4 separate regions of the Homo sapiens genome follow, and regions 1, 2 and 3 are each linked to region 4. The links are contacts of gene promoters, found by promoter capture Hi-C in blood cells and fetal thymus (Javierre and others, 2016). All regions are on one chromosome and are shown on one strand. Each heading gives the region's core, a stretch centred on a gene start or on the middle of the fragment in contact. The rest is flanking DNA. Distances are from core to core; before and after follow the strand shown. Region 1 overlaps KSR1 (kinase suppressor of ras 1). Region 2 overlaps KSR1 (kinase suppressor of ras 1). Region 3 overlaps KSR1 (kinase suppressor of ras 1). Region 4 holds the start of WSB1 (WD repeat and SOCS box containing 1).

Region 1 (6,541 bases), core at 1,032-3,531, 250 kb after region 4:
ATGGTAGGCATGACCTCTGACCAGTCAGAACAGGTGCTGGTGGTAAACAGGAGGCGTGGCTCATCTGCCTGTCACTGCTGCACTTCCAGCCAGTCCAGCACAATGGCTGGCCTGTCCCTGTCCACACACCCTGTGGAAGCCGCCCGTGGGAGCTCTCTGTCTAGACTGCCATTTTAGCTGGTGCTAAATGGTCTTGCTTTTAGAGGCAAGGCAGCTATTGCTCCAGCTCCACTGTGGCAGCCTCCAAGGGATGGTTGGTTCTGTGGCCACAGAGGAACCCAGCCTCCCAAATCAGACTGGCCCATGGGTAGGTTGCCTGGGACAGCCATGACACACCATGGAGGATGGGCCCAGGACCCATGCTATGGGGCACCAGCTATGGAGAGGCAGGTTGGGGCGCAGTGTAAAGGAAGGATGACAAGGAAGGGACCTGCAGGGTAGGGGTGTGAGGCCTCCATGTTCCTGGGGATCCCTGCAGTTCTGGGGGCTGTGTCCTTTACCTGAAGAAGTCTCTTTCCTCAGTGGCACGTGCTTCTCCTTGGCACAGTATCTGCTCAACCAGGCCCGTGCTCTCCAGGGATGTCTGACAAGCCTCACCACCATCCAAGTGATACTCGTGGAGCCTCCATTTGGGAGGCCTGTGCCAGAGTCATACCCGAGCAGCTGGGGTGGCAGATGACACTGAGGCTGATCAGGATGCCAGGTTACGGGTGCAGATGTTCCTTTGGGCAAGTGGAGCCGATGTCATTTCATTCCCGTCACATCCTCTGGTGCTGAGGTTGGAGGTGAGCACTCAAAGGAGGATAGGATTGGGTTCCCTGGAGTCAGCTGGGTGGGTACAGGTCTTGGCCGTCTCGCCTTTAGAAGAAATATATCTGATGCGTGGGTTCCTCCAGCATTGTCCTGAAGTCAAGACCAGATTTCAGGGTCTTCCTTAGTCCCATCTCTGACACGGGCAGATTCCCACCCATATCTTCTGTATTGCCTAGGGAGGTAATAAGAGAGAACCTGTCGGCTTCGCCTGAGAAGAACACCACCCACGTCCGCTGCCGCCGCAAGAGTGTTTTCTGTGTTCCACACGTTTTGCTGAGCACTTTGCATTCATATTTTTCTCATGTAAGCCTTCACAACAGCCTTTTGAGGTAGATCAACCCCATTTTACAGGTAGGAAAAGTGAGGCTCACTGGTTAGATCCCATGGCTATGTTCACCCAAGGGAGTGGTGTCAAGGGACTTTAGGGCTAGAGATGTCCTTCATGGAGCCACACTGACTCCTAGGTATGGCTGGATAGGACCCGTGGTTTGTTTTTTGCTTGTTCCAAGCACTTTGTATACGGCAACTCACTTGGCCTCAACCTCCATAAAATGATACTCTTTTTATAGGTGGTAAGACTGAAGCTGAGCCAAGGGGGATTTCCCCAAGATCTTTGATTTTAGATGTTAGAGCTGGGACTAGAGCTGAGCTCCTTCGGCCCCAGATACTTAGTGAGCGCCTGCTGTAGTATCGGTAGCACCCACCAACTGTTTGTGGCTGACCTGATACTATTCTCTTTCTGTAAGTCAGACTCTGGTCAGGGCTGGGGTGGGCCCACAGTACATTCTTGAAGCAAAAGAATATTGGGGTGTGAGAGATGTTGGTTCCAGCCCAGGGCCTCCCCTGTGGCCAGAGACGTAATGACTCTTTCCTTCTTGCTGCTGGTCCCATCCCTGAAACCCCAGGTGCTTGTCTATTCCGGAAAATTTATATCTTGCGGTTTTGTGGTTAAGAGAAAATGACGCTACCAATGAAAGGTCCCCTTTTAGGCCCCCAGGGCTGGGCTAGCAGGCCCCACTGTGGTTTGTCTGGGAAAGTAGCCCCTTGGCGCTTCTGTGACTGCAACCAACTTTCCAAGAAGTGAGAGCAGCTTCATTTCACTCTGACGGGAGTGGCTGCCTGTAGGCCACCTCCATCCTTTGTCAACCAGAGAAGTTTTGCTCCATCAGCAGAACCCAAATCTGTAGAGGTTGTTTCTTAACAAGTTCTGGGAGATAGCAGCTGCCAGGACACCAGACCTGCCAGTAGCTGGGTCGTGCTGCACTGCATGTCTTCCCTTTTCCTTGTCTCAGGCACAGCTAGCCAGGTTTATGGGTTATCTGGGTGCAAAGAAGAATCACTTCAAGTTCTGCACAGTTCTACCCATGGGCCTGCTTTGGGCTGTCTAGCGGGGATCTCTACCGGCCTTTAAAAAAAGAAACCGCTTGCTCCTCTTCTAGGGAAGCTGTCCTGGCTTTTGAGATGTTCAGACCCCTGTCTCATCACTTGCCCAGTTGGTGTTTGTTTTTCGCTGCCATTTGATAAACTTTGTGTGCCTGTCTGGCACAATGTATTGTGTTTGTGTGTTCATCCTTTCAACAAAGGTTTTAAAATAGCAAACCAGGCCAGGTGTGGTGGCTCATGCCTTTAATCCCAGCACTTTGGGAAGCTAACACAAGAGGATCACTTGAGCCTAGGAGTTAGAGACCAGCCTGGGCAGCATGGCAAGACCCCATCTCTATTATGAAAAAAGAGAAAAAGCAGCCCATGTGCTGGGTGCTGTGCTGGCTCCTGAGGTCTGCTGGTGACCAAGAACACCAGCTGGACCCCCACCTCCCAGAGTTTCCAGCCTGAAGAGGGAAGCAGACAAGCGTGAAAAATCAGAACTGCGATATGTGATCTGGGCAGGGGGCTGGAGGGCTTGAGGAAGGCTTCCTGGAGGAAGTGGTGTCTGAGCTGATCCTTGTAGGCGGAGAGTCACTGGGAAGAGCTTGCTTAGCAGGGGACCGAGTGCCTCAAAGCTGAAAAGGGCAGGCAGGTTGTGGGGAGGCTGGACTGGGGAAGGCCCAAACGCTGGCTCAGGCTAAGGCCAGGTGGGCTAATCTCAATGTTGGCCTGTGGTGGCGAAAGTCTTGTGCAAATGGCATATGTTAGGAATCACTCCCAGAGGCAGGACCCTTGAAGGCCATGTGCCAGTGACAGAAGGGCTCTAGTGCTGCTGCTTTTAGTGCCAGCAGCCTGACCTCTCCAGTTAATGTGGAAAAGAGTGGTTTTGAGTTTGCACAGCTGTTTGATTTATAGTCCTGTCTCTGGTCAGCCCTTTGAAGTGGTGGTTTCAGAGCCGCGTGGAATGGAGGGAAGGGCTGGCTGTGAGAAACATGGGGATAAGAACCACACATTTTCTTCCTCTGGCACTCCTGAGCATATGTTTTATGCCAGGTGCTGTAGTAGGAACTGGGGATATGAGGGAAATACGGTCCCTGCACTGATGTGTAATTATAGGGAGATCTAACCTAGTCTTTTGGAGGTCTCCATGCTGTAGTTGAATATGAGCTAGGTGTCATCGTTCCTGTTTACAGGTGGGTGAACTGAGACTCAGAAAAATTAATTATCTTCCTTGGGGCAGTGCAGCCTAGTATATGGTGGATTTGAACCCAGATGTGTTCAACTCAGAAGCCTGGGAGCTCGTGTCTATTGGGGGAGACTGAGGCAGAAGCTGTTAACTGTAGTATGATAGTAACTCCATGATCAGGGCTCTGAAAGAGTCACACACAACACACCAGGAAGGGGAGAGGCGGACTCTGACTTGGCCTGGGTAGGAAACTCCAGCAGGTATTGGAGGAATAGCTGCTGGGTGAGTGCGTGCCTGGTGGGCAGGGCCAGGGGCTATGGAACGGAGCTGGGGGGCTGGGGGAAGTTGGAGCCCTGGTTTTGGAATTTGCCTCTGGTCTCACTGGGCGGGATGGATCAGAGTGGGGTAAGCCAGGATAGGGCACATGAGTGCATCCTCTTAGACCTGTAGGATAAAAGCTCACTCGTGTGTCTACGGTTGTGAGCTTCATGCTCTGTAGGTGCTCCCCAGGGCTTAGGTTCCATAATAGGACAGCAAGTAGACTCAGAGTCCTGAACCTCAGCAGTGTGTTTGATTAGCAGGGTCTGCTCTGGGCACCTGAGGGGCATGGGGTGCAGGAATGTCAGGGGATCAGCCTCTGGGTCTGTGGTTTCATCAGACATAAAAACTGTACAGTTGAGAGTGTGGAATTATTTTGATTCTGACTCAGCGCTCCCTCTCCAGCAGCTGTCTGCACTTGCCACTGAGCCCCTAGTACCCTGAAGGGAGCAGGGGCCATGGGAGAGGGGTAAGTAACCCCAAGGGGGTTGAATCTGGCTCTGTCAGATTGTTGGTGAGCCTGGGGCCAAACTAGTTTTCTGGGGGAAATTTCAAAAACGCTGATGTGGTAGCAGTGGTTTCATTATTATGGGTCTCATTTCATGCTCACATCTCTCTAGCCACAGGAGTTCTTGACCTGGCGTCTGTGGATAGAATTCAGGGGGTCCATCGATGAACGTAGATGGGGAAGAAAATTGCACTTTTATTTTCATTAACCTTAACTGGAATTTAGCATGTCATTCCACTTGATTGTAGGCAATGAGGCACAGTTATCTTAACAAACACCTGTGACTCGGTCACCAGTAGGAATCACAGTTGTGGAGCTATCTGAAAAAGCAGTTTCCACTTGTCACAACTTTAAAGTTATGGCAGTTATTAGATGCACTGTTGGATGTTTAATACTTTAATAAAGAAGCTTTTATGACTCTATCACAGGTTTTTTTTGTTTTGTTTTGTTTTGTTTTTGAGACAGAGTCTTGCTCTGTCACCCAGGCTGAAGTGCAGTCAGACAAGGGATACTCAGCCTGTATCTCAATATATTTTTCTTTTTTTTCTTTTTATTTGAGACGATCACTAAGGCTGGCAGGCTGGGGTGCAGTGGCATGATCTTGGCTTCCTGCAACCTCTGCCTCCTGGGTTCAAGTGATTCTCCTGCCTCAGCCTCCCGAGTAGCTGGGATTACCGGCGTGTGCCACCATGCCTGGCTAATTTTTGTATTTTTAGTAGAGGCAGCATTTCACCATATTGACCAGGCTGGTCTCGAACCTCTGATTTTAAGTGATCCACCTGCCTTGGCGTCCCAAAGTGCTGGGATTACAGGCGTGAGCCACCATGACTGGCTGTCTATCACAGTTTTCAGTAATTTGATAAATGTGTTTAAATAGAATTGATTTCCTTTATAATTCGAAGTGTGTCGTTTTATACATTTCAAAGTATTGTTCTGTCCAGGTGCGATGGCTCACGCCTGTAATCCCAGGACTTTGAGAGGCTGAGGTGGGAGGATTGCTTGAGCCCAGGAGTTCAAGACCAGCCTAGGCAACATAGTGAGACCCCATCTCAAAAAAAAAAAAAAAAGATAAAGATAAAAAAAGAAATAAATGAAAGTATTGTTCTTTGAAAGAGATCATGGGCCTCCCTAGATTTCTAAAAGGGTCTATGGCCCCAAACTGGTTATAAGCTTTTATTCTAATTGAAAATTTGGAGCCTTTCTAGATATTTGAAATTAAAAATTATTAATTCATCATTTTTTTCTTCGTAAAATATTGTGACTCTGTTAACAAGAGTCCTTGCTCTTTAGAAAAATGTGCTAAGGTCCCGGTGCAGTGGTCCTAAGTGTTTTGTTTTATACTCAGATCAAGTGATCTGCCCACCTTAGCCTCCGAAAGTGCTGGCTCATGCCTGTAATCCCAACACTTTGGGAGGCAGAAGTGGGCAGATCATCTGAGGTCAGAAGTTGGAGACCAGCCTGTCCAACATGGCGAAAACCCGTCTCTACTAAAAATACAAAAATTAGCCCTTTATGGTGGCATGCGCCTATACTTCCAACTACTTGGGAAGCTGAGGCACAAGAATCACTTAAACCCAGGAGGCGGAGGTTGCAGTGAGCCAAGATCGTGCCACTGCACCCCAGCCTGCCAGCCTTGGTGACCATCTCAAAAAAAAAAAAAGAAAAATATAGTGAGATACAGGCTGAGTATCCCTTGTTTGAAATGCTTGAGGTCCAAAGTGTTTTGGATTTTGGATTTTTTAGAATTCTGGAATATTTGTATTATACTTAATGGCTAAGCATCCCAAACCCAAAAGTTCAAAATCCAAAATGCTCCAGTGAGCATTTCTTTGGAGCATCATGTCAGTGCTCAAAATGTTTTAGATTTTGGAGAGGTTCAGCTTCTGGGTCTTTGGAAGCGTTTCGGATTTTGGGTTTTTGGATTCGAAATGCACAACCTATATTTACAGATGAAAGGAAAAGGAATGAATTAACACCACAACCATGAGGGACAGCAGGGTTGAGAAGTGTCTCCAGAAGACAGGTTCCTGTAAGAGACTGTGAAGGTGGTACTTATTTTGGGGGGACACTTGGAAGTCACCATTAGGAGGCCACCAGAGTCTTAGCAACATTTCAGGAGCTCTCCCTGGGTCCCTGGGTCACTTGGCCGTAGCCAAGCCAGGCAACTCCCTGGTCTTCTGGCAGTGAGCTCGTTTCCATCTGTCGAGCCTAACTGGCCTCTGTTGGGAATGCGAGTCCCTTATTTTTCATCAGAACTGGGCCATGCCCTCCTTGTGCTTCTCTGTATCCCGTGTTCCCCAGTCCAATGCTGGGCACCCAGCCAGAGCCCAGTGTTTGTCGGGTTTACCCAA
Region 2 (6,273 bases), core at 1,134-3,633, 180 kb after region 4:
ACACCACCATGCCTGGCTAATTTTCTTATTTTTAGTAGAGACAGGGTTTCACCATGTTGGCCAGGCCAGCTTGTGAGCTCAAGCAATTTACCCACTTTGGCCTCCCAAAGTGCTGGGATTACAGGCGTGAGCCACCGTGCCTGGCCTGTGGCCAATCTTGAGTGATCTAGGGTATTTATGCTCTGTTTTGGCGATGGTGGCCCTGGGCAGTTCGTCTCTAGGAAGCAGAGTGACCCAGGGCGGTCTTCTCCAGCCATCCGCTTCCAGGCTGAGCTGTACCTATCTCAGCAGGCTGGGAGGAATCTCTGTGTTTTCCTATGAAAAGGCAGTTTTGATTATTTTCTCCTAAGCTTGCTCTGGCTTCTGGCAGCAGGTACATTGCAGAGTGTCCATCTCACTATCTAACCTGAGTCCCCCGCCGCACCTGAAACCTGTTCTCAGACGGCTGGGTGCTTTCCCTGTCCCACAGCAGTCCTGCCAGAGACTGAGATGAGAGTTTTTAACGAAGCAGGGCCCCCAGACCCAGCGGAATCCCACTGTGCACATCCTGATTTCCAGTCCATTCTTGCCCATGCCTCTAGTGTCTCTTCCCTTCCTTTTCCTTGTTGCTTGTTCCCATTATGAGATAAGTGTATTTCAGCTAACATTGATTAAGCTTCACTGTGTGTGGGCCCTGGAGAGAAGAGCTGCTGAGTACAGGAAGGTGCTATTCTCTGGGAGCCCCGGGCAAACCCTCATTTCTGCGGTTCCAGCCTGGAACCCGGATCCAGCACCTGTAAAAGTCTTCCTTGCCCTTCCCGGCTCTTCTCTCGAGGCTCTGCACAGTCCTTCCTGAAGCCTAGCTTTGTTGACCACTTTCTCATTTCTTTTCTCCGTGGTCTTTTGATCCCAACAGGTAGTTTTCTTTTGGTTGTTTGTGCTTTATTTTGGCTTTTGCTGTATTCTCTTGCAAGCATTTCTCAGGTGCCGAGTCACTTTTTGCTGGCTGTTTCAGTCTCTGAGTTTGGCCTCCACAACACAATCGTGATGTCACTATGGGAAAGAGCCCCTCAAGCACTTGGTAGGACATTGAGGCGTGCATTGAGGGCGCCAGGATGTGCGGGGACTCTGGGGTGAGGATGACATATTCGTATTCTGACTCCATTCCTTGCCAGCTCTGTGACCTTGGGCAAGTTCTTTAGCTCTCTGGACCTCAGTTTTCTTGTTAGTTAAAAGGGGATAAGAGTAGGTTAATTTTGGATTCTTTTGAGAACCAAGATACAGAAGGAGTGCTGGACAGTGCCTGGTACTTAGAAGGAGTTCAGTGTTTCCCCCACTGTCCCCCGCCTTTCACGTAGCATTACTCCAAAACACTTTTCCATGTTTCCCTATTATCTTCCTTTTGGTCATTTTAGTTGCCACATGAGAGTGTGTCTAGTGGATCTGCTGTAATTTGGCAAAGCATTTTCCGTGTTATTGGACATTTCAGTAGTTTCTAGATTTCTGCAATTATAAACAATGTGAATGGAATCGTCTTTATATAGGCGCTTTATTTTTGTTCCTATTCTGAATTTGTTTTCTTGGGATAATTCCCAGGAATGGAATTACTGGATCAAAGAGCATGGAGATGGAGTGTGTGTGTGTGTGTGTGTGTGTGTGTGTGTGTGTGTGTGTTAAGACTTGCCAAACTGTTCTCCCATTTTTTTTTTTTTGAGGCGGAGTATCGCTCTGTTGCCCAGACTAGAGTGCAGTGGTGTGATCTCAGTTCACTGCAGCCTGCACCTTCCAGATTCAAGTGATCCTTCTGTCTCACCCTCCTGAGTAGCTGGGATTACAGGTGCACACCACCATGCCCAGCTAAGTTTTGTTTTTGTTTGTGTTTTTTTTTTTTTTTTTTTGAGACAGACTCTCGCTCTGTGGCCCAGGCTGGAGTGCAGTGGTGCGATCTCGGCTCACTGCAACCTCTGCTTCCCGGGTTCAAGCAATTCTCCTGCCTCAGCCTCCTGAGTAGCTGGGATTACACGTGCCCGCCACCACGCCCAGCTAATTTTTATATTTTTAGTAGAGACAGGGTTTCACCATGTTGGTCAGGCTGATCTCAAACCCCTGACCTCGTGATCCACCCACCTCGGCCTCCCAAAGTGCTGGGATTACAGGTGTGAGCCACTGCGCCAGGCCTAAGTTTTGTATTTTTAGTAGAGACAGGGTTTCACCATATTGGCCAGGCTGATCTCAAATTCCTGACCTCAGGTGATCTGCCCACCACAGCCTCCCAAAGTACTGGGAGTACAGGCGTGAGCCACCACACCTAGCCCCTCCATTTAACTCCTGTTGAATGATAGCTGTTTTAAAAATTGTACTCCTGGGTAAGTATCTCATATTTTTTACAATTCTTTCTGACCTTTGTACCTTTCTTCTTCTCTCCTTTATTCTCCCCATTTTTTGACCTTGTTAGATATTCCTTATCTTGAATTTGCTATTTCTCTCTTCTGTGCATTCATTCAGTGACTTTTTTTTTTTTAAATTTCAGACAGAGACTCACCCTGTCCCCCAGGCTGGAGTGCAGTGGCACAATCTTGGGTCACTGCAACCTCTGCCTCCCGGGTTCAAGCGATTCTTGTGCCTCAGCCTCCTGAGTAGCTGGGAGCACAGGCACGCACACTACACCCAGCTAATTATTGTACTTTTAGTAAAGACAGGTTTTGCCATGTTGGCCAGGCTGGTCTCAAACTCCTGGCCTCAAGTGATCTCCCTACCTTGGCCTCCCAAAGTGCTGTAAAGGCGTGAGCCACCGTGCCGGGCCCACTCCAGTGACGATTTATTGAGCATCTGCTCAATATCAGGTTTGTTTTAGGCACTGTTTTAGGCACTGAGGAAGGAGCAAGGAAGAAAATAGAGGGCTTCCTTCAGTGGAAAGAGAAAGATAATACACATGCCAAACAGACAGACGTGCTCTCAGAAGAAAACTGGAAGTGGGTTAGAGAGAGGTGGGGGTATGGAAGAGGTGACTTCTTTAGATGGGGTGATCGGGAAAGGCCTTCCCAGAGAGGGTGACTTTTGAGCTGAGTCTTGAAAGATGAGAAGGCCACTGTAGCCTGGAGGAGTGTTCCCGGCAGAGGGACTGGCTTGTGCAAGAGCCCTGAGGCAGAATCGAGCTTGGTGTGGTCAAGGGCCAGGAGGAGGCTGGTGTGCCTGGAACACAGTGTCAGGGGAGGATGGTTGGCCTTGGGGTCAAGGAGGTAAGCAGGGGCATGGGGCTGTTTTTTCAGTGCTGGGCCGCAGGAGAGAATTAATGCACCAACTCAGCAAACAGGTGTCCTCCTACTTCCCCCTCCGCCCTCCTGGCCGGGTTTCGTGCCAGGCACTGTTCTGGAATATAAGAGTGAATGAGAGATGTATTGTGCTCCAGAAAGCCAGCTTAGTGGGGGAGTTTGTGGATGAGTAAACTCATAGAAGGTGCTGGTGAGGTGTGAATGAAGGCTCATCAGGCCGCGCAGCTGACTCATCTCTGTACTGAGGTGTGTAGGGACTTGGGAAATGTGTCTTGATTTGCACGGAACTGTGCTCTGTGCTGTCAGCCTTCACCGTGGTAACTGAAACTCAGTTCTCTGATGTAAAGCCTGGCAGTCCCGGCCTGCTTGGGGGCACCTGGACCCCTGCCAGGGAAGGGGTCCTCAGACTTGAGGTTGCCAGCTCAGATGTGGGGCTGCTGATACTAGGTATGAGTGTCTAGGCTCCCAGTTATGGGAAACAAGACCAAGAGACAGCCATGGGAAACCCCCTTCTTACTGAGCTGCCTGCCCTGACCCTTTCTCCCCTGACTGCGGACTCTGATTTGTGGCTCTGGTTGGGAATGTAGATTTGGGGACATTGTGCTCCTCATGGGTTTCTTCCCGTAGGATGGGGCAAAGAAGGGGTTATGAGATTGAGCAGATGCTTCTGGGAGTCTAGAGTGTACTCACATAGCGAGGTGTGGACCTCATGAGAGTGCCTGGAAATAGCCTGGTGGAAGATGTTGGCACCATTTCGTTTGGAGGAGGCTGAATGACTCATAAGCCCCGGGGGGCTCTGATGTCATTGAATTAGGGGCCTCCTTTGACCAGGGTTAACCAGCACCTTGGGTTCCTTGCATGTAAGCTTGTTGCTATTAAATAAATGGGAAGTGGGCTGGGCCCCGTGGCTCATGCCTGTAATCCCAGCACTTTGGGAGGCCGAGGTGGGCCGATTACCTGAGGTCAGGTGACCAGCCTGGCCAACATGGTCAAACCCCGTCTCTACTAAAAGTACAAAAATTAGCCGGGCATGGCGGTGGGTGCCTGTAATCCCAGCTACTCAGGAGGCTGAGGCAGGAGAATTGCTTGAACCTGGGAGACGGAGGTTGCAGTGAGCTGAGATCATGTCACTGCACTCTAGCCTAGGCAACAGAGCGAGACTCCATCTCAAAATGAAAATAAAAAAAAAATGGAATGGAAGGCCAGAATCCTGGGAATGTATCAGTAATAACTCAGGGCCCTATCCCTTCCTCCCACAGTTATGGCTAATGTGAAGTGGACCTGCCCAGGTTTTTTGAGACAGGGTCTCGCAGTGTTTCCTAGGCTGGAGTTCCATGGCACCATCATGGCTCACTGCAGCCTCTGTCTACCTCTCTGGCTCACCTTCAGCCTCCCAGATAGCTGGGACCACAGGTGTATGCCACCATGCCCAGCTAGTACCCAGGTTTAAGGCAGCAAGATTCTGACAGCAGTTCTCTCAGTTAATTTCTCAGTAATGATAACTTTATGAGCCCATGTAGGTGATGAAATAAGGCCCAAAGTCACACAGTAACTGGTGGAGCTGAATTGTCTGAATTTCCATTTGTGTTCATTTCATTGCCCTCTTTAGAAATTTGCTTGATCTTGGGTCTTGTTCAGGGCAGAAAGAGATAATACAAGGCTTTGGTGATGCTTAGCATTTTAGAAGAAGTAATGCTGGGTGGAAATGGATTTGGCAGTCTCGTTTTTCGCATCATTGGAATGGGAGTCCCTCACAGTTGGAGACAGGATGAAGTAACAGAGCGTGGGGATCTGGATTAACAGGTGGCCATTCGCAGAAAGGAGGCTGCAAAGCAAGAGGTGGGGGCTTCTGGCTGAGCAGGAAGGTGGGAGAGGGGCATCCTTGTGAGGAGCAGCCTGTAGGGCTGGGGTTTGGGCAGCAGGCAGGCAGAGGACTTTATCTGATCACCTCAAATAATTTTGCCTCTGCTTGGAAGGGTTCTAGCTACAAAGGCAACATAGCAGGTAGTGCTTGGGTGTGATGGTGATAGGCACAGCGGTATTTTAAATACTGGTGGTACATTTTAGGAGAAAGAAGGTGACGAGTCCCTGGGGAGAGTCCCTGTGGTGGCCATGACTCACCGTGGCACAGGGGACAGAACAGAACAAGGAAGAATCCATCAACGAATGGAAACTTGTCTTTTTAGGGGACAGGAAGCTTTTTTTGTGTGGTTGGCCTGGTGGCTTATGAGGAGAGGTGAACATTTGAGACAAAACCCCAGGCCACTCTTCCAGCTGCATCTTTGACAATTTTGAGAGTTTTAGGAAGTAGTTAAAAAAAGAAAAAGAGAAACCAAAAGCCAAAGACCTCGTTTACTCACAATACCTGTGTACAGCCAGCCATGTGGGCTGCGATCGGCCATGTGTCTAGAGGAAACTCCTTCACTTGCATCCCTCCCTCCTAGACCCCTAAACCAGAGGGGGCTTTTGACTATTCTTAGAAGAAGACTTAGGCGGCCTCAAATGACCAGACCTTGTCTCAAGCATCTAACAGCTTAGGCCAAACTTCCTCTCTGGCCCTGTTTGGTTTAAGCAGTTTCCTGGTCTGGCAGGATTTGTTATCTTAGCACCCAGCTTGTCAAAGCCGTAGTGCTACTTGTTATAGCAAACAGGCCCCTGTCACCCTGTGGCTGCAAGCCAGGCAATGCTTATGTTCCAAAAGTCAGACCTGCTGTTCTTACTATAAAGCTCTGCTGGACCATGGGTGGCTTCTATCTTTGGATGTAAGGATGGGAGGATGAGCAGCACCTCATGCTGTGTAAGAGCACAGGTTCTGGTGGTTGACAGCCTGGATTCAGGCTGCACTGCCTTTCTGGCTAGCTGTGTGTCTTTGGGCAAGTTGCTTACCCTTTCTGAGCAATAGTTTCCTCATCTGTGAAATGGGGATTATAATGGGGTCGTTTTTCATAGTAAGTAAGATGAGCCATGGAAAAGCACAATGCCTTGTGCAGAATGAGAATATTTTTATATTATAATATTACTA
Region 3 (6,392 bases), core at 1,381-3,880, 230 kb after region 4:
ACTGTGCCTGCTTGTTACTTGGTAGCAGACCTGGGAGCCAGGTGGCCTGGGTTCAGATTCCAGCTCCGCCTCTTACTTACTGTGTGAACTTGGACAGGGCTGTGTACAGTCAAGCAGGTTGTGCACTGCACAAGGGGGTGAAGGGTTCCTTAAATCCAGACTGCCCCTATTGCCAGGAATATGCCTTTTGTGGGTCTGTGCTGTGTCTGTGCAGAGGATGGGATGCACTCTTTCACCTTGCACAAAGGCACTGCATGGGTTGGTTCTGGCTCTGGCTTTGGGCAAGTTGCCTCTGTGCATCAGTTTCGTTGGAGAGAATAAATGAGTTACCGCATGTAATGTGCTTGGAACAGGGCCTGACACATGGCTAAGAACCATGGTAAGGATTAAATGCTGATTATATGTAGTACTGGAATGAGCTGAGCCTTCTGGGTCTCCTCTGAAGGCTTATCTTGAGTTTCCCAAAGCCTGGCATTTAGGAGAGGATACAGCTCTCCACCCCTTACAGTTTGGTCACTGAGTTTGCATTTTTTCCCAAAGGTTCCAAAGGTTTCCAGAGGTTCTCTCTAAACCTTAAGCTTTTCCAGGTTGCAGCTGCTTAATCTTCAGGCAGCTGACCTTGGTGTTCCTGGTGCCTTCTTCATCTGAAAGAGGATGAGGTAGTTGGGGCCAAGGACACCCCGGGTAGTCTAGCAAGATTTGCCCTTCAGACATTTGTGTAAATCTTCTCCCTAAACATCAAACTGGAGAAATACAGGTGTGCTATAGGGAGAATGAAAAGAGCCCTTTCCAATTTGGAACAGTTTGCGTGGAAGGTGGGGCCTTGCCCCTATGGCATCCAGATCTGTTCGGTAACTGCAACTAACTTTTCTTTTCTTTTCTTTTCTTTTCTTTTCTTTTCTTTTCTTTTCTTTTCTTTCTCTCTCTCTCTCTCTCTTTCTTTCTCTTTCTTTCTTTCTTTCTTTCTTTCTCTCTCTCTCTCTCTCTCTCTCATGGTTCTTGTATGAATTCTAATTAAGAGACATTACATTCAGAATTATAGCACTCATGGTGATAATTTTCAGAAGACTGTAACAGCTTCTTTGCCACTTAAGGGGTACAAAGGGTGCAGCTGTTTCCCTGAAGGAATTCTTAAGTTAGTGACTACTACCACTCAAATTTTCCTAGTTGTCGCTCTGTTACAGGTTACTGACCGCAAGTCCATGTTCCAGACATTCTTTGCCAACACAATTAATTACAAGAGAGCCACCCCCAAAGTCTTAGGGTGAATTGGGAAAGGGCCGGTTAAATGAGGAAGCAGGCCATTCCTTGGTAAAAGTTTGTAGTTTTTTTTCCCAATACATCTTCTCTTTATTGAGAACTTCATTTTTATCCTGTGTTCCTCCTCTGCCATCTCACACTCTCGCTCTGTCTGCTGGATTTTGGCCACAATGCACCTCATTCATTTGTATCAGTTGCAATTGTAAGATGGACATTTGTTGATCATGTTCAGTCCTCGTGCATCTTTTTTAAAGCACCTTCCTGAGAGATTTTGCTCATGTAGTTTTTATTGGCTGTTATTCTGACAGCTGAACACGAGGGTTCAGGTTGAGAGGTCCTCTCACGTGTTGGAAAACGTATGAACTCTTTCTCATCATCGCACAGTTCTCTATTTGAAACAGCAAATGATTCTTGGGCCGTGGCGTGGTATTTGGGCTCCTCCTCCGGGGGGAGGGGTGGAAGGAGTGCTCTGCAGGAAGTAGAGCTGCTCCAGCAGCATGCTGGTGATCTCCTTCCCTAGGACTTGGTTACTCAGGAGGGGGCTGACGCTCCCTTTCACCTTCTCTCTCCTTTCATGGGCCATAATTGTTTTAGTCCAAGCCTTGATGTTCTCCCAGCCCTTCTTCAGCTGTTTGAAATCCGGCAGGGACAGCTCGGCTGAGAGTTGCATTCGTGGGTCAGCGCCTGCAGGTACATTGATTGCTTAAGGGCAATAGTTCACACATCACTTTTCTTACATTCCAGCACATATTTGTACTTTTCTACTAAAATCAGCAGGGTACTCTTTTCTAGTTCTGAGAAGTATTTGGCAGGTTTTATAATTTCATTGTTTTGCATTTTCCACTATATTTCCCCTGGCCGCCAGCTATCCTGTAATCCCAGCTACTTGGGAAGTTGAGGTAGGAGGACTGCTTAAGCCCAAGAGGTCAAGGCTACAGTGAGCCATGTTTGCACCACTGCACTCCAGCCTGGATAACAAAAGGAGACACTGCAGTGGCACACCCGCCCCCCCCCCCCCCTTTTTTTTCTTTTTTGAGACAAAGTCTTGCTCTGTCACCTAGGCTAGAGTGCAATGGCGTGATCTTGGCTCACTGCAACCTCCGCCTCCTGGCGATTCTCCTGCCTCAGCCTCCCGAGTAGCTGGGACTACAGGCACCAGCCACCAAGCCTGGCTAATTTTTGTATTTTAGTAGAGATGGGGTTTTACCATGTTGGCCAGGCTGGCCTTGAACTCCTGACCTCAAGTGATCCACCCACCTTGGCCTCGCAAAGTGCTGGGATTACAGGCGTGAGCCATGCCCGGCCTGACTTCTTGTTTGGGGCACAAATCAGACTGTATAAGAATCATGAGAAAAACAATAATATCTTGGGCTTTCACCAAATGTTTTATCCTGGTCAGCAGTATCTTTAGAAGACACAAATTTTCATAGTTTCTTGATTTTAGGATATATTTCATAGTTTAATATTTCTGAAATTGGGAGGCTTTGTACGATGTCTTTAATGTAGTAATTCTTTGCTCTCCCCAAATGCTGTTATTACATTGATTATGTGTCTCATAAATGAACATCCCTACCTCTTGTGGGTCATCCAGGATGGAATTTGTTTTATTGGTCAGTAGAAAAGGCTATGACCTAATTAGTGTATCGAGTAGGTATTCTGTGTAAGTTAATGCATTTATTTTGTTTTTTATTATTTTTGAGATGAAGTCTCACTCTGTTGCCGAGGCTGGAGTGCAGTGGTGCCATCACGGCTCACTGCGACCTCTGCCTACTGGGGTTCAAGCAATTCTTGTTCCTTAGCCTCCTGAGTAGCTGGGATTACAGGTGCGTGCCACCATGCCTGGCTAATTTTTGTATTTTTAGTAGAGAGAGGGTGTCACCATGTTGGCCAGGCTGGTCTCAAACTCCTGACCTCAGGTGATCTGCCCACCTCAACCTCCCAAAGTGCTGGGATTACGGGTGTGAACCACTGTGCCTGGCCAAGTTAACACGTTTAGTCTTTAACACATTTGGTCTTTGGAAGAAACTGAAGCTCAGGAATGGATCAGTAATTTGTTAAAGGTCACACCGCTAGAAAAGAGTGGATCCAGTATGTGAGCCCAGCTCTGTCTAATCATGATGTTCAGTTCTTTCTCCTTCCCAGGAGAGACCTGTACTTCTTCACTTCTGGCTCCTGCTGTTTTTTTAAGCTGAGGATGTCCTCTTCTCTTCCTATTGAAACTCCATTTCTGGGCCAGGCATAGTGGCTCACGTCTGTAATCCCAGTGCTTTGGGAGGCTGAGAAAGGAGGATCTCTTGAGCCCAGGAGCTTGAGACCAGCCTGGGCAAGATGGTGAGACTCTGCCTCTACAAAAATTAAAATAAAAAAAGTTAGCTGGGTATAGTGGTGTTCACCTGTAACCCCAGCTACTCAGGAGGCTGAGGTGGGAGGATTGCTTGAGCCTGGGAGTGTGAGGTTGCAGTGAGCTACGGTCATGCCACTGCACTTCACCCTGGGTGACAAGAGAGACCCTGTCTCTACTGGAAAAAAAAACCACAAAAATCCCAAAACAAAACTTACACCACCTGTTCCCCAAAAACCTATTGGATAAAAAAACTCCATTTATTATTCTTTCAGTTTGGATAACATTTTATGATTATAAAAATGACACCCGTTCTTTAAAAATACAAAAAAGTAAATAATAAAACTTTCCAGTGTTTACATTTTGAGATGTTAATTTTGCTATAAAAATAGAAATTGACCTCAAAGTTGAAAAAAGAAAATTAATGCCTTAAATTAAAATAAAAAAGATATGTGAAGATCATACTGCAAATGTAGTTTTCTTACCTTGAGTTGTTAACTTTCTAGAAGATTATGGGCATTGCCTCATATGATTAAGTACACTGTTAAAAGGGACTTAAAAAAAAAAAGTTGCCTCATAGTGTTCTGTGATTGACACACCAGAATGTAGTTACCTACTTCCCCATGTTTGGCTATTTTAAGTTACACTTCCGTGAATAGGCTTATGCTTACACTTAATTGTTTCTTTAGGATAAATTCCTAGAAGTGGAGTCTGGCTCAAGGGGTGAGGGCCACCTGGTGAGGCTTCTGTTGCATCATCCTGTTTCTCTGCTGCCCTCCAGGGGGGCGATGCCGCTCCACGCTCCTGCCATGCTCCTGCCACAGCCACACTGGGGAGTCCCTCTGCCAATGTTGCCAAACATCTGCCCATATGTTTCCATTTTGTATTTCCTTGCTTATTATTAAGGTGGGAGGTTTGTTATGGTTGCCGGCAGAGGTAACTTTCCTTTGAGATAAACATGTATATTTCCTTGGCCTGTTTAACTGACTTGTTTGTGCAACCCCAGTCATTCTTCAAGACCCAATTCAAAGCTCATCTTTTCCATGAACTCTTTCCCGACACCCGTCTTTTCTCTGAAGCTGGAAGCTTTAATTTTCATATCTGAATTCTCACAGCCTGTGTGTATCTGAAAACCCTTGTCAAAGACACTTTTGCATTGCAACTTGATATCTTTGGCCCCCACTTGAATCTGAGGTCTTTAGGGTAGGAGATGGGTCATTCATTTCTGTGTTGTTTGCAGGGCCTTGGCACCATACTGGGTAACTAGTGGGTACTCGATACTCTTGAATGGATGGATAGATGGACACACACTGTTCTTAACAAACCAACCAACCCATCCCACACCCGTCAGCAAAATGAGTTTAATGCCACCTTATGAAATTGCTCTCTTCCTTTCCGCATCTTTGCCTTTGGAATCAGTGAGGTTTTGCTCCATCTAAAGACCCAGCAGGGGCTGGGCGCAGTCCCAGCACTTTGGGTGGCTGATGTGGGTGGATCGCTGGAGCCCAGGAGTTTGAGACCAGCCTGGGCAACATGGTGAAACCCTGTCTGTACAAAAAATACAAAAATTAGTTGGGTGTAGTTGTGTGTGGCAGTGGTCCCGGGTACTCAGGAGGCTGCGGTGGGAGGATCGTTTGAGCCTGGGAGGTCGAGGCTACACTGAGCCGTGATTACACCACCGCACTCCAGCCTAAGCAACAGAGTGAGACCCTGTCTCAAAAGAAAAAAAAAAGACCCAGCAGGGCAGATGGAGTAACCAGCAAAGCCGACCTTAGTGGTGAGGCTGGGCATGGCGGCCTGAGCAGGGATCGGCTCCAAATAGTACGTCTACCGTGGGCTCCTGGACCTTTCTCCCTTTGCTAGAAGAGAAGCACCAGCACCCTCCCTTTTCCTCTTGTGACATTTTAAAATGTATTATTCCCATTCATAGCCTTATAAAATCAGTACGCAGTAATTAGAGAACATTTGGAAAACACAGAAAAGTAGAAGGAAGAAAATAATTACCTATAGCCTTCCCACTCAGATCAGCCCATTCACAGATGACATTTCTGCTGTGTTTTCTTTCAGTTGTGTTTTCCAGGCAAAGACTTTGTGTGCGAGGTTTTGCTTACGTAGTTCTTGCCATCCATCATGTAGATTTTTTTGTCCTGCCTGTCGCTTAGTAAAATAACACAAAAAACTTCCTATGTTTTTGTAAACCTGCTCAGTGGCTCTGTCATAGTTTAGTAAGTGGTTTTACCATCACCTCCTTAGCTGTGCTTCCATTGTTGGGGCTTTGGGTTGTTTGCACTGTGTCCCTCTTGTAAACAATGTCGGGATGGACAAGTTTGTGCTGGGCGTTTCCTTGTCCCTTTGGCTGGTTACCTCAGGCAGACTGGCCCATACCAGCCCTTCCCCGCTTCATTCTCCTCCCTTGGGGCCAGTGCCCTATTCGCCTCTCGGTTTGTGTTTCTCAGTCTCCATGTGTAGCAATATGTTGAGAAACAGCTTCCTTTTTCAGGAAGAAAGCTCAAGATGTTGAACCTCGAGGAGGCTGTGCACAAAGGTGCAGAGTCCTGCCTGCTGGGTCATGGCCTTGGCACTGCAGGGCGGCCCCCTTCTGCCTCACAGGCCCAGGGTTACAGAAGGTGCAGGTGACGGGGAGGCCACGCCTTTGAAGGGGCTGCCTGGCAAACCTTTTCCCCTGACAGTAAGCTGAGGGGGTGGCCCTGGTCACATGTTGCAGGTCTCTGGAGGGGGTGTAGTGAATACCTGAGTCCATTTTCTGCCTGGTCCCACACTCGGATCCGTC
Region 4 (6,535 bases), core at 1,989-4,488:
CTGTGGGCCAAGGACAGAACTCTAGAGAACCCCAACATCTATGCGACATGTAGGGAATAAGAAGCCCCTTCAGATTTGACATTAAAGTAGCAAACACAGATATGAAATGCCAGGTATATATTTGCTTTTCAAGCTAGGTTTCATTTATGAGAGGCAAGGTAGCATGGAAGCAGGGCAGTCAAACAAGTCTGAGTTCAGATCTAGCCCCTGCAGCTTACTCTGTCCTGTGGCTTCTCAGGTTACTAAGTGTCTATGAAATGTATGTCAATACACTGTATGTGCACTCCAGCCAGGGCGACAGAATGAGACTCCATCTCAGGGAGAAAAAAAAAAAAGAAAAAGTCATCACAATAATTCACTGATGGACACTCAAGAACTGGTATTTCCCATGAATTTGTATGGTATAGTACAAGTAACAGGGATAATAGCAGTTGGTTAAAAGAATTAACTGAGATGGATATAAATGTTGGTATATGAGCTACAAGACTGCATTAAAGTTTTTCTGTAATGTATGTCAATACACTGCTCATATGTTGTGAGCATGAAATCGGTTAATCCACAGAAGCACTTATATGGCTCAGTGCTTAGAAGTATCTATTACTAATGAGTACACAAATCATAAAATTATTTTTCATTCCATTGTCATGCTTTGCCAGTTGAGAAAATGGCCAGGAAGTCTGTTGGCTTGCAGGAATAAACTAAAATAGAAATTAAACAATTGTATTAAAAAGTCTGGCCGGGGTGGCTCACGCCTGTAATTCCAGCACTTTGGGAGGCCAAGGCGGGCAGATCACTTGAGGTCAGGAGTTTGAGACCAGCCTGGCCAACATGGTGAAATCCCGTCTCTACTAAAAATACAAAAATCAGCCAGCCATGGTGGCGTGTGCCTGTAATCCCAGCTACTCGGAAGGCTGAGGTAGGAGAATCACCTGAACCCAGGAGGCAAAGGTTGCAGTGAGCCGAGATCGTGCCACTGCACTCCAGCCTGGGCGACAGAGTGAGACTCCATCTCAGGGAGAAAAAAAAAAAGAAAAAGTCATCACAATAATTCACTGTTGGACACTCAAAAACTGGTATTTCCCATGAATTTGTATGGTATAGTACAAGTAACAGGGATAATAGCAGTTGGTTAAAAGAATTAACTCAGACTGATATGAATGTTGGTACATGAGCTACAAGACTGCATTAAAGTTTTTCTTTTGTTCTACTCTAAAAATTCAGCAACTAGGCCCAGTGCCTGATACAGAGTGAGTCCTCAAGATATCGTTGACTGAAGCTAACAAAGTGATTTATTGATTTATTTATTTATTGAGACAGAGTTTCACTCTTGTCACCCAGGCTAGAGTGCAGTGGTGCAACCTCAGCTCACTGCAACCTCTGCCTCCCGGTTTCAAGCAATTCTCCTGCCTTAGCCTCCAGAGTAGCTGGGACTTCGCCACTACGCCTGGCTAATTTTTTGTATTTTTAGTAGAGATGGGGGTTTCACCATGTTGGCCAGGCTGGTCTCGAACTCCTGACACCCGCCTCAGCCTCCCAAAGCGCTGAGATTACAGGCGTGAGCCACCGCCCCCAGCCTAACAAAGTGATTTTTTTTTAAAGACGAGGGGCAGGCAGGGCGCAGTAGCTTAACGCCTCTAATCCTAGCACTTTGAGAGGCCGAGGTGGGCAGATCACAAGGTCAGGAGTTCAAGACCAGCCTGGCCAATATCGTGAAACCCCCTCCCTACTAAAAGGATGAAAAAAATTAGCTGGGCGTGGTGGCAGCCACCTGTAGTCCCAGCTACTCGGGAGGCTGAGGCAGGAGAATCGCCTGAACCCGGGAGGCAGAGGTTGCAGTGAGCCGAGTTGGCGCCACTGCACTCTGCTCTGGGAGACAGAGCAAGACTCCGTCTCAAAAAAAAAAATAAATAAATAACCAAAAAAAAAAAAAAGGAGGGGCGATGTTTTATTAAACATTTCGCTATTTGAAGAATTAATACACTCATGCAAAGAAAAGATGAAGTAAACATGCCCTACAGTGTTATCATTTGAGATCTCTTAAAAGCGGCTATGCAGCCGGGCGTGGTGGCTCACGTTGTAATCCCAGCACTTTGGGAGGCTGAGGCGGGCGGATCACTCGAGGCCAGGAGTTCGAGACTAGCCTGGCCAACAGGGTGAAACGCCCTCTGTACTAAAAATACAAAAATTACCCGGGCTTGGTGTCACATGCCTGTACAAATCCCAGCTACTGGGGAGGCTGAGGCAGGAGAATTGCCTGAACCCGGGAAACGGAGGTTGCAGTGAGCCAAGATCACGCCATTGCACCCCAGCCTGGGAGAAGCGAGACTCCGTCTCAAAAAAAAAAAAAAAAAAAAAAAAAAAAGCGGCTATGCAACACTCTACTCTGTCCCATGAATATCTGCCACATATTTGAATTCCCAGTCTTATACGCCCCAGGCCTTTGCAATGTTTAGGGTCCACACGAGAAGCCATTAAAATGCAAATACGTCATCTGTGACCGGGAACCAAGCTGGCATCTAGCAGATACTGACACATTTATCAGTCTGATGTGTGGACAACTAGGTGCCTCCCAGAGGCCTTCAGGTAAGGTGGAGGAAGGGCCAATTCTGAGCTGACACAGTGGGATCCATCTTGGCCAGGACAGTGGGATCCATCTTGGCCAGGACAAAGGCAGTCCAGAGAGGCCCCGCGGCGCGGTGCGGCGCGATCACGCCCGAGTCTCCTTCTCGTTCCCCTCGGCCCTTCCTAAAACCTGCTGGCTCAGGTCTGAACAATCGCAGCTGGACAGGTGGTGCACAACGATGTTAATTTTCATCCTGTCTTTTTCATCAGTGCATCCTTCAGTTCCCTATTACTTGTGGGCTGGGGAGTTGGCCAAATTGAGTGAAAACCTGAAATGTCTTTTTGTTCTTTTGGTTCAGCCAGTTTAAGTTCCATGCAATCTTTAAGCTAGGAGGCTAATAATAATACAATTCTCTGCTTGCCCTTTTCAAAGCCACTTCAGCTTATAAACTCCATATTAGACCATCCAGGCCCAGAAGACGCCACCGGCCTACAGGCAGAGTCAGCGGAACCAGCCTGGGCTGGATCTCCCCCTGCGAGGCCCCCAGGCAACGCCCGCGCCGGGCCGGGGAGATCACGTCCCGTGCGTCGGGAGGCGGGGGCCTCGGGCTGTGACGTCACGTGGCCGCGCCCCTGCCGCCCAGATATCTCCGGCGCCGCCCGCCATTTTGACTCCAGTGTCTCGTTTGCAGTCGGCGCTTTAGGGGAACTGTCTTCCTCCGCAGGCGCGAGGCTGGGTACAGGGTCTATTGTCTGTGGTTGACTCCGTACTTTGGTCTGAGGCCTTCGGGAGCTTTCCCGAGGCAGTTAGCAGAAGCCGCAGCGGCCGCCCCCGCCCGTCTCCTCTGTCCCTGGGCCCGGGAGGGACCAACTTGGCGTCACGCCCCTCAGCGGTCGCCACTCTCTTCTCTGTTGTTGGGTCCGCATCGTATTCCCGGAATCAGACGGTGCCCCATAGATGGCCAGCTTTCCCCCGAGGGTCAACGAGAAAGAGATCGGTGAGGATTGGGACCGTGGGTGGGCGCATGAGGGCCGAGGAGAGGCAGGGACTCCCCGGAGGAGGTTTGGGAGGAAGCGACTCCAAGTCTGAGGGAAGAGCTCCAGTGCGCCAGGGCCAGCCCACTAGCGAGGAGGAGGAAGCCGCCTCGGTGGGAGTTGGCTGAGGGGTAAACGGCACCGACGTGGATGCAGCACCTACTGTGCTCCCTCGCGGTTGCTGTGTGGCTGGGGCGGGCAAGGACCCCGGTTTCTTCGTCGGAGGTCCGCGCAGGGCTCTTGTCCTGGGAGTTCTTGGCTCAGGGCATGACTGTCGAGTGGACAGGGAAGGGCCACTCAGGGACTTTAGGTTTACAATGGGGAAAAGTAAACTTGTGGGTTGTAAGCGGTAATGAAAGGAGGGGGTCCTCGTGTGTACCAACCACTCTTAGATAGAAATGAGATGGAAGAGGTCCCAACAGCCTGGCAAAAGCAATACAGTATTTTTAAAATGGTGTGGCCTTAAGAAACGCAGCGGTTCGGGGGAGGAGACTTTTAGAATTATCTTTCAAACACTTAAGGGAGGAGCTGGGTGGTTGGGTGGAGTGACAGAAGGAAAGCTTTTGTGCGGAAGAGGAAACTCTGGAAAAGGCTTTTCTGGCTTAGTGTCTAGCCCTGGTCGGCTTAGTAAAGGGCAATTAGTGTTGAAGGTTGTGCGTCCACACCTACTTAGTGGCTCAGTGGAAAGCACGTCGCATTATTTAAATCCTCTTTTAAAGTAAAATAACTGGAACAACGTTTGACGGTGTTGGGGGGTGCTGTACATTGGCTGATAACACTTAGCAAACACTGATCTTACTGTGTGAAGTAATAATTAGCTGCGGCCGCTGAGCAGAGAGCATTTACATTTTCCTACTCTTGAAGTGAATGTGTGCCTTTACTAAGTACAAGGAGGAGTTATTTCTAGAGAAGGGAAGAGGCTGAAGTAGCCAAAACGCGCACTATTTTGTATGTGGGTGAATTTTTATATCTAGAAACAGCTGTTTTAGAATTCTGGACTTTTGTTGTCTTAGGGATGATTGATTAGGAAGGGACTTTAACCCTGGTTTTAATAACCATTTTTAAAGATACAAACACAGAAAAAAAAGGGAAAAAATTGTAGCAGAGTTCACACAGAAAAAAGAAAAAAAAAGATGCAAAGAACACAGAATTTGTGTCCAGTTATTATTTTAACTGTATTTTAAGACTAGAAAGTATGTCGCGAAGTGGGACAAAGAACTCAAAAGTTCTTATCAGTCCAGTGGGTTTTTCTTTTACTTTAGTACACCATAATGTTATAGACGAGTGATCTGCCTTTTTTTTAAATCTGTATTTTACTTCATCCTGATAAACCATTTTGAAAACTTTGCGGTCCTGTTTTCTCTCTCTCTTTTTTTTTTTTGAGATGGAGTTTTTGCTCTTGTTGCCCAGGCTGGAGTGCAATGGCACGATCTCGGCTCACTGCAACCTCCGGCTCCCGGTTTCAAGCGATTCTCCTCCCTCAGCCTCCTGAGTAGGTGGGATTACAGGCATGCACACGCCCGGCTAATTTTTGTGTTTTTAGTAGAGATGGGGTTTCTCCATGTTGGTCAGGCTGGTCTCGAACTCCCGACCTCAGGTGATCGCCCACCTCTGCCTCCCAAAGTGCTAGGATTACGGGCGTGAGCCACCCCGCCCAGATTTCCGGTTTTGTTTTCTAAGAGATGGATAGAGATGGATAGCATACCTACATAAAGTAGAACCATCCACTAAGTGTTCCCCCACTAGCCCCCTGATTTCTCTTTTCTTTTCTTTCTTTTTTTTTTTCATATTTAGGTCTCAGTGTTATTTCCTGGATACGTTATAAAAACTTACTAGCTAAGTGCCAGATATCTAGAAGAACTTTTGCTTTTTCTGAGCTTTTTTTAACCCCAGTTTTTTTCTTTGTTTCTTTTTTTGAATTATCATTTGGATACAAGGTTGAACATTTCTCTGCGTAGCTTTTTAAATCTATGAATAAGGATTTACTTTTTTTCTTTTCTTGGGTGTTAATTAAAAGCCAAGCCAAGTTTAGTTTCTCAAGGACATACGGAGAGTAGAGGCAAGATTTCCATGAATGATTAAATAATTCTGTGATACTACTGCCTTGAGCTACTGCCCTTTTTCACAAGGCACTGCCACAGATCATCCCTTTCTGGTTATGAAATTTTGGGGAGGAATGTAAAGAAGGAGCTAAATCTGGTTTGCTTGGTTCAGCAGTGACTCAGATGGTATGTTACTGTTTTACAGATATTAATAATGTAGTGTTGTATCTTACGGCTGATTTCCCATGGCAGCCTTTCCCTTAATAAGGTCATTAAATCATACATTTCTGTTGCTAACATTAAACAGTTACAGATAATGTAATAAAGGTTTAACTTAAAAATTTTTTTTCAAAGCACTTTATTACAAACTTTGTGCTAGGTTTATAAAATTGTACCAGTATTTAATCTGAGCACTTAAATCATTTTATTAAAGTGCCAAAGGCAATTTGATATACCTGTTATCCAGCAAAGAAACACAAGGCAATTATTAGTAAATTTTAACAGATTAATGCATTTATTTGGTAGGTTTTATAATGGCTCTATTTCTTGAGTTTGTATATATTTGAGAATTATGTTATAAATATGTTATTATTTCATTGTCTTTGCTATCTATTTGAACCAATTTTTTAGTAATTGTTACCGCTCTTTTACTTTTTTTTTTGTTCCTTTGAGACTGAGTCTCGCTCCGTCGTCCAGGCTGGAGTGCAGTAGCGCAGTCTCAGCTTACTGCAACCTCCACCTCTCGGGATCAAGCAGTTCTCCTGCCTCACCCTCCCGAGTAGCTGGGATTACAGGTTCGTGCCACCACACCTGGCTGATTTTTTGTATTTTTAGTACAGATGGGGGGTTTCACCATGTTAGCCAAGCTGGTCTGGAACTCCTGACCTCAGGTGATT

What was found. The method cuts DNA at HindIII sites, captures the fragments that hold promoters and counts their contacts. A CHiCAGO score of 5 or more calls a contact.
Region 1: a contact is called between a fragment that was not itself captured here and the fragment with the promoter of WSB1 in region 4, in 1 of 17 cell types (activated CD4 T cells). The highest score is 5.4, in activated CD4 T cells.
Region 2: a fragment that was not itself captured here is called in contact with the fragment with the promoter of WSB1 in region 4 in 2 of 17 cell types (activated CD4 T cells and naive CD8 T cells); the score reaches 6.0 in activated CD4 T cells.
Region 3: a fragment that was not itself captured here is called in contact with the fragment with the promoter of WSB1 in region 4 in 1 of 17 cell types (monocytes); the score reaches 6.7 in monocytes.

The regions. Positions count from the first base shown.
Region 1 is chr17:27,542,989-27,549,529 of GRCh38, forward strand. All of the region lies in intron 1 of KSR1 (kinase suppressor of ras 1), which reads left to right. LOC124903960 (a long non-coding RNA gene) reads right to left here. Exons shown (of 2, transcript XR_007065680.1): 2 at 1-985. Among named protein-coding and RNA genes, the nearest start is that of LGALS9, 85 kb to the right of the region's middle. RefSeq lists enhancers at 1-318, 319-819 and a silencer at 1,493-1,552. The HindIII fragment of the contact is 4,629 bases long and covers 1-4,596 here.
Region 2 is chr17:27,468,383-27,474,655 of GRCh38, forward strand. The region is part of intron 1 of KSR1 (kinase suppressor of ras 1); the gene reads left to right. Among named protein-coding and RNA genes, the nearest start is that of KSR1, 15 kb to the left of the region's middle. RefSeq lists enhancers at 3,455-4,219, 4,220-4,984, 5,206-5,255, 5,276-5,605. The HindIII fragment of the contact is 3,461 bases long and covers 654-4,114 here.
Region 3 is chr17:27,525,127-27,531,518 of GRCh38, forward strand. All of the region lies in intron 1 of KSR1 (kinase suppressor of ras 1), which reads left to right. It also overlaps the pseudogene MSANTD3P1. Among named protein-coding and RNA genes, the nearest start is that of KSR1, 72 kb to the left of the region's middle. The HindIII fragment of the contact is 4,109 bases long and covers 577-4,685 here.
Region 4 is chr17:27,290,876-27,297,410 of GRCh38, forward strand. It overlaps WSB1 (WD repeat and SOCS box containing 1), which reads left to right and starts at 3,239. Exons shown (of 9, transcript NM_015626.10): 1 at 3,239-3,560. The coding sequence starts at 3,521. It overlaps MIR4522 (microRNA 4522), which reads right to left and starts at 3,121; the gene lies at 3,035-3,121. RefSeq lists enhancers at 2,968-3,017, 3,388-3,447, 3,458-3,517 and a silencer at 3,058-3,267. The HindIII fragment of the contact is 5,795 bases long and covers 1-4,155 here.